Regions from separate parts of the Homo sapiens genome. Here region 1 is linked to region 2. Evidence: promoter capture Hi-C in 16 types of primary human blood cells and fetal thymus (Javierre and others, 2016). All regions are on one chromosome and are shown on one strand. The core of a region is centred on a gene start or on the middle of the fragment in contact, and the rest is flanking DNA. Distances in the headings are between cores, read along the strand shown.

Evidence for each region. Contacts are between HindIII fragments. The CHiCAGO score rates a contact against its expected background, and 5 or more counts as called.
Region 1: a contact is called between a fragment that was not itself captured here and the fragment with the promoter of SLC39A6 in region 2, in 1 of 17 cell types (endothelial precursors). The highest score is 6.8, in endothelial precursors.

What each region holds. Positions count from the first base shown.
Region 1 is chr18:36,287,541-36,291,211 of GRCh38, forward strand. No RefSeq gene overlaps it. Among named protein-coding and RNA genes, the nearest start is that of FHOD3, 8.3 kb to the right of the region's middle. The HindIII fragment of the contact is 911 bases long and covers 1,559-2,469 here.
Region 2 is chr18:36,126,985-36,130,589 of GRCh38, forward strand. It overlaps SLC39A6 (solute carrier family 39 member 6), which reads right to left and starts at 2,356. Exons shown (of 10, transcript NM_012319.4): 1 at 2,130-2,356; 2 at 1-32. The coding sequence starts at 23. ELP2 (elongator acetyltransferase complex subunit 2) reads left to right here and starts at 2,915. Exons shown (of 22, transcript NM_018255.4): 1 at 2,915-3,087. The coding sequence starts at 2,950. RefSeq lists enhancers at 2,154-2,659, 2,282-2,576, 2,607-2,796, 2,660-3,165, 2,957-3,166. The HindIII fragment of the contact is 4,684 bases long and covers 1,834-3,605 here.

The DNA of each region.
Region 1 (3,671 bases), core at 764-3,263, 160 kb after region 2:
TAGCCTCCTACTCTGACAAAATCCTTGGCACTCTGCATAGGAGCACGATGGCATGGGAAGAGCTGGTCCAGCTCCTGGTTGCCAGCCATAGCCTACAGCCATTTTCTTCTCACCCTTGAGCCGTGAACCCCAGATGTGTAGACACTGGAGACTATACATTCAAACTCTGTCCATACCTTCCCCTGCAATCAGCTGCCATTTAGCCCCTTTTCATGCTTAGGGGTGCACCCCTACGGATGCTCTGAAAATGACACACACATACAGGCCTTGGGGACATGTTCAGAGTCATGTGGGCATCTGAGGTCCTGGTGCCTGGAGAATAGTCTAGAGAGCAGCTTGGGTTCCAGGTGGGCATAACATCTTGGTCCTGTGGACTTGCCCTATAGGGAAGGATGGCAGGAGCAGGGCCAGGATGAGGCCCTCCAAAGCATGGAGCCCAAGGCAGGGGCCTTTCTTGTTCTGGGCAAAGGGCAGTATTGTTAAAATTTTTCTGGAGAAAGTAAACTACCCCAGAGGAAAGACCTAAAGATAGTCAAGAAATAAGCCATTTGTCCACTGGTTTGGTCTGCAGTGGAGTCCATCAGGCAAAGTGCCTCTATTATACCCTAGAGCTTCCAATCAGCTTTCTTTCTTTCTTTTCTTTTTTCTTTTTCTTTTTTTTTTTTTTTTTTGAGGCAGAGTCTCGCTCTGTTGCCCAGGCTGGAGTGCAGTGGTGCAATCCTGGCTCACTGCAACCTCTGCCTCCCAGGTTCAAGCGATTTTCCTGCCCCAGCTTCCCAAGTAGCTGGGATTACAGGCGCCTGCCACCACACCCAGCTATTTTTCGTAGTTTTAGTAGAGACAGGGTTTCACCACATTGGTCAGGCTGGCCTCAAACTCCTGACCTCAAGTGATCCGCCTGCCTCGGCATCCCAAAGTGCTGGGATTACAGAAGTGGGCCACATTGCCCAGCCTCCCAGTTGGCTTTCAATGTGATGAACAGCCAAGGATCATGCCATTTGAGGAAAGTGTCTACTATAAAAGAAAAAAACTGAAAGAAAAAGAAGAAAGGAAGAACCCAAAGTGTACAGAAACAGTGCAGCAAAAAGAAGAAAACTTTAAAGAAAATGTGGTTAATAATATCAGGGAAATCCTGGAAATAAGAACAAGATATTTTAAAAAGAAAAATCACAGAACAAGACAGAATTCTTGAAAAGTAAAAACATGAATGCTGCAATACAACATTCAGTAGAAGAAAAGGAAATACAGTTTAGGAAATTTCCCAAAAAGTAGAAGAAAATAATCAGAGAGATGAACAGGGCAGAAAAGTTAAGAAAATTAGAGAACCTGCTTAGTGATCCAACATCTGAATAATAGGAGTTCTAGGAAGAGCAAGCAGAGAACACTGTGGAGAGGAAATGATCAAAAACAGGATATAAGAACATTTCTGCATCAAAGAGCAGGATCTCTGGATTAAGTAATATCCACAAAATGACAACAGGATGAATGAAAAAGAATCCCCACCAGGGCACCTCATCATGGAATTTCAGTATATTGGGAATAATGAGAAGGTTCAAAAAGCTTCCAAAGAGAGAGGGGAAAAAAGTTACCTATACAATGTAGAGTTACCTATACAGTTGCCCCTTGATATTCATGGTTGTTTGGTTCCAGGACCTCCCTTGGATACCAAAATCCGTGGGTGCTCAAGTCCTTCACATAAAATGGTGTAGTATTTAACATAACCTATGCATATCCTCCTGTATACTTTAAATCATCTGTAGATTACTTATAATATCTAATATCATGTAAATGTTATGTAAATAGCTGTTGTGTTGTTTAGGAAATAATGACAAATAAAAAAAGTCTGTACATGTTTAGTATAGATGCAAGCATTCATTCTTTTTTTGAATATTTCCAATCTGTGTAGGTTGACTCCATGGATGCAGAGCCCACAGACACAGAGGGCCAGCTATACCACAGCACAAATAGTCTAAAGCAACAAGAAAAATTAGAAGACAATGAAGCAATGCCTCAAAATTCTGAGTAAAAATCATTTTAACCTAGAATTGTATAACATATGTGTTATATTGTTTCAGAGATGACTACAACATTTCTTCATATCTGGGTACGTGTACCTCTTTGCAATGTGATTTCACTTCTCCCATCAGGGAGTGGAATCTATTTCCCCACTTCTTGAATCTAAGCTGATCTTAACTTATTTCAACCAAAAAAAAAAAAAGAGTAGCAAAACTGATACAGCATAATTTCTAAGCCCAGGTCTCAAGAGATCTTGCAGCTTCCACTGTTGACCTCTTAGAATGCTATCCTAAGTCTACCAGTGTAAAGAAGCCAGGTCTAGCCTATTAGATGAGAAACCCAAGGAGAGATGAACCATTCTAACTGAAGCCCCCATCTGGACCAGCCAGCTGACAGCCAGCGTACATTACCAGGCATGGAAGGAGGCTATTTTAGTCCCACCAGTCCCAGTCAAGCTTCTAGATGACTGCAACTACATGAACGATCTCAGGTGAGACCAGATCAAATTGCTGATCCACAGAATCAAAAGAAAATAAAATGGTTGTTATTTTAAGCTACTACATTTTGGAGTGGTTTCTTATACAACAAAGACTAAATAAAACAGGAATTGGTACCTAGAAGTAGAGTGCTACCATAACAAACCCCTAAATTGTGTGACAGTGGTTTTAGGACTGGGCAGGGGGCAGAGGCTGGGAAAGTGGTGAGGAAACCATTATTTGAATCTGCATGCAGATGAGGACTTTCTCCTCGGGTACAACTGCTCTGATGCAGAGACCTGTTACCGTAAAAGACAAAGTGTATAGCCCTTTCACACTCAATATGCAATGGTGAAATTGGGACAGAATAACTTCAAGAGGCACTCACATTTAAAAATAGACAGACTGGGGCCAGGTGTGGTGGCTTACACCTGTGATTCTAGCACTTTGGGAGGCTGAGGTGGGTGGGTTGTTTGAGCCCGGGAGTTAGAGACCAGCCTGGCCAACTGGTGAAACCCCGCCTCTACTAAAAACACAAAAATTAGATAGGTGAAGTGGTGTGCACTTGTAATCCCAACTACTTGGGAGGCTGAGGCACGAGAATCTCCAGGAGGTGAAGGTTGCTGTGAGCCAAGATCACGCCACTGCACTCCAGCCTGGGTGACAGAGTGAGACCCATCTCAATAATAATAATAATAAAATAAAAAATAGACAGATTGGAAGACACACAGCAGTCATTGATTCATAGCAATGCTGAACTCCAGCCAGACACATGTTGCCAGTTTCTCTTACTCCAGGAGACTACGGCCCAGTTCTGCTTCCTGGGATGGTTTCCAAGTTTTTTGTTCCCCACGATCCTTAGTTCCCATGCTCTGATAGAACCTTCCTTTTCCAAAGGTAATGGCTGCCGTGTTTGCAGCAGAGAAACTTTCTTACTTTAGTTTTTTTTTTTTAATTAATTTTAGTTTTTTTTTTTTTTTTTTTGAGACGGAGTCTCGTTCTGTTGCCCAGGCTGGAGTGCAGTGGCATGATCTCGGCTGACTGCAAGCTCCACCTCCTGGGTTCACGCCATTCTCCTGCCTCAGCCTCCCTAGTAGCTGGGACTACAGGCGTCTGCCACCACGCCCGGCTAATTTTTTGTATTTTTAGTAGAGACGGGGTTTCACCGTGTTAGCCAGG
Region 2 (3,605 bases), core at 1,106-3,605:
ATTACAGATAACTTCCTCGCCATTGCGCCTTCCTAGAAAAGACAGGAAAAAAAAATTCTTGACTCACTTCTAAAACAAATTGAATTAAGAAACCTCATACTGAAAATTAATGTGTAATCAAATAATCAAAGTTGCCAGAGCATCATGTGGTGTGACCAGTGTGACGCTAGGTACTGTGAAGATGGAAAGAACTAGAGTCCTAGGCTCTACCCTTGCATTCCTAAAACACATGAAACAACTGGAGAAGAGCTGAGTGCTAAGAGACTGCCATTAGCACTGTAAAAGCAATAGTAATTCAGAGACAAGGGAGATCCATGTGGCCACAGCCATCAACTGCTTACTGAAGTTGAGAATTTATTTGAACGATTATTTGAATCATTGAGGCCAATGATTCATAATTAAATCTAGGCTGGGTGTGGTGGCTCATGCCTATAATCCCAGCACTTTGGGAGGCTGAGGCAGGCAGATCACCTGAGGCCAGGAGTTTGTGACCAGCCTGGGCAACATTGTGAAACCCTGTCTCAAAAAAAAAAAAGAACGAAATGAAATCTAGCTACCTTGATCATCACCATCATTTCATAAAATAACCTTCAAACACCAAAAAATAGAAATAATAATCTCAGAATTCACATATTTAAAAAATTTTAAACTAATACACTCTCCTTACATACAAGCCCATTTAAGACCCCTTTCCCCAATCACAATCCTCAAAGGTGCTCAATTTTGCCAGTGTATCCCTCAGGATATTTTCTATGCATACTCAAATACATGTATACTTAATTTTTTTTTTAAAGTTTTTTTTTTTTTTTTCTAGAGACGAGGTCTCACTATGTTGTCCGGGTTGGTCTTGAACTCCTGGCCTCAAGAGATCCTCCACCTCCAATTCCCAAAGTGCTGGGATTACAGGCGTGACCACTACGCCCAGCCTCAAATAAGTGTATACTTTAAATACACATTGAATCTTTTTTCCGACTTGACAATGAATCAGACACATTATGTCCATACATAGAATTCTTAAAGTAAACTGAACTTCATGAAAAACTCACTGTAGCATCCTTGTGTTACTACAAACCAGTCAACATTTAATCACAGGCTGTTAATCATCCACAGTAGTGTTTGGAACCAAAGGCCTGTGCCCCAAAGAGGAGGAAGCAATTGAGTTGGAGCTTGAAAAGCAGAATTCAGTTAAGCAGAGCCAGAATTCAGTTAATTCAGATCCAGCAGGATGTCCAGCACCAACGGTGGAGGTGATGGTGGTCAAACTCACATCTCCAGCAAAAGACGCAGACGTCAAGTTTACAACTAAGCAAGAGCATGGGGCTATCCAGCTCTACCACGGTCAGCTGTTCTTTGGACAGGGCTCTCGCATTCATTACCTTATCTAAAATACCGGTAAAACCTATTTTGCAAGGCGAAGGAGGAAAACACATGAAGGAATGTATATTACAAGTACTCGTTAAACTCATGTGTTGCACAAGTGCGAGGTATCATACAGGGAACAGTGGGAAATGGAGGTACGGCGTAGAACGAGGCTCCTGAAAGAGGAATCTTTGGGGCTTGAAGTTTCGGGAATTCTTTTACTAGGTAAAAGATAAACATTTAGAAATCATTCCCAGGAGAGAGGCGAGGAGCGGGGTGGGAGGGGACTAGCACAGGGGACAGCTCCGAGCCTTTCTCCAGGGAGGATGCTGAGCGCGGTCGTGGACCCGTTGAAGGATCTCCTTTCCTGCAAGTTGGTGTGTGCTGGAGGAAAAAGGAAAGCAGAAGGGAAGGGCCTTAGAGAAAAAGGCGAGTACAGAAAACGGAAAAGAGGGCACAAAGCTCTCTTCTAAAAGCTTTTTATTTCTAAACACGTCAGTCCCTTCTTCGAATATGGGATGAAAAGTACGGATCTTTTCCTCAAAAAATCCTCCGTTGCACCCCGAAGCCCATCTGAGCACCTTAAGAAGTCCGGCTCTCTAGGGTGAGTGGGCGCCTGCGGCGGGCTCCCCCCAGCATCCTCTTTCTGTAGCCCCCCTGCCCGGTCCGCAGGATCCGGTTCTCCGCAGAACCACCCCTACCCCGCCACGCCTGTCTGGCCTGAGGAGCTCCCCTCCCAGCCGCCCTGCTCCCGGACCTGAAAGACTCACGTCTCCGCGGCCTCGTTGTCCCACGGCCCGGCCACGCGCGCAGGTTTGGTTCCACACGGGCGGTCCAGAGGGCTCGGAACGGGCCCACTGGTGTCTTCGAGAAATCTCTACCAGGCGCGAACACGCGGTGGTTTCATTGGGTTGGCTGCCCCTCGGTCCGGGGGCAGCGCCGCGCAGCCACCCGGCAGCCGCGCCCCTAGCCTTCGCGAAGCTGGAAGACAATCACTAATTACCGCCGCGCGCAGCGCCGCGGGGAACCACCGCCCCCTTCGCCCAGGACTGCAGGGCATGCGCAGTGCGACCCCGGAACCCGGCTCCGCAGACGGATCCGCTTTTCCGTGTGTTCGCCGACGCCGCGGGGGCGTGGCGCGGCCCTAGCGCATTGTAAGCAGTTGGGGGTCATTTCCTCGAGGCCCTACTCGCTAGCCAGCGCCCCCGGGGCCAGCCCTGGCTGCTGCTGGGAGCCGGGTCGTAAGGGGCAGCGAGATGTTTCTGACGCTGCCCCAGGCACATGAGCCCCGGGTCCTTCGGGAGGGTCCCGAGCCACTCGGGTCGGATTTCGCTCTTGAGACAAAGGCCTGGCTCGTTCGCGGAGCGGGGCCACGGTCCAAGAGCAGAGCTAGCAAAGCGGCGGCCTTGCACAGGGGTTCCAGCCTGCGGTGGGAACGGAGAGTCTCAGGGGGGCGGGGCTGCCTCCGTCTGGCCCTCGGCTGGCTGCGAAACGTGGACTGGGTGATGCCTCAGGAGAAACCACCCTAGTAGTTCCGCTCCGAGGGCGGAAGTGCGCGTCTCTTGTTTGTGCGGCTGACCAGTTGGCGACATGGTGGCACCCGTGCTGGAGACTTCTCACGTGTTTTGCTGCCCAAACCGGGTGCGGGGAGTCCTGAACTGGAGCTCTGGGCCCAGAGGACTTCTGGCCTTTGGCACGTCCTGCTCCGTGGTGCTCTATGACCCCCTGGTAAGAGAGGTCGCTGGACGGCCGACCCTTGTGCTTTTCGGGTTGAACCTGTGGACGTGCTCCGGGCGCGCTGTTAGTTGCCGCCCCAGACCTAGGAGGCGAGTCGGGTCGGCTCAGGGGAGCGGGGTTTGGGCTCGGAGTCTCCAGTGGACCTGCCGGACTCGCTCCTCACCCCTCACCCTTTGCCGTCTCACGCGTGGCGTCATCCTAGGGTCATTGCTGCCCATGAGCTGCTAGTAACCTGTTAGTCCCACGCAGAAACCCGAATGATAAGCATCTTACCTGAAGCCTTCCTTGGGAACTGTAGTACCGTTAATCAATTTGGGTTTTAAAACAATTGAAATTTATATGTAGATTAAAACCATCATCCCACAGGTGCAATCTCATTTCAGTATTTCCTTCAGTTTTGGTTAATGAACTTTTGTTGTATTGAATTTCAAGGAAATGTTACCTGTGTTTTAGCTACGGGAATGGACATTTTAGAGAAAGTGTCAGTTTGGGGGAAAGGTCATAGGGGA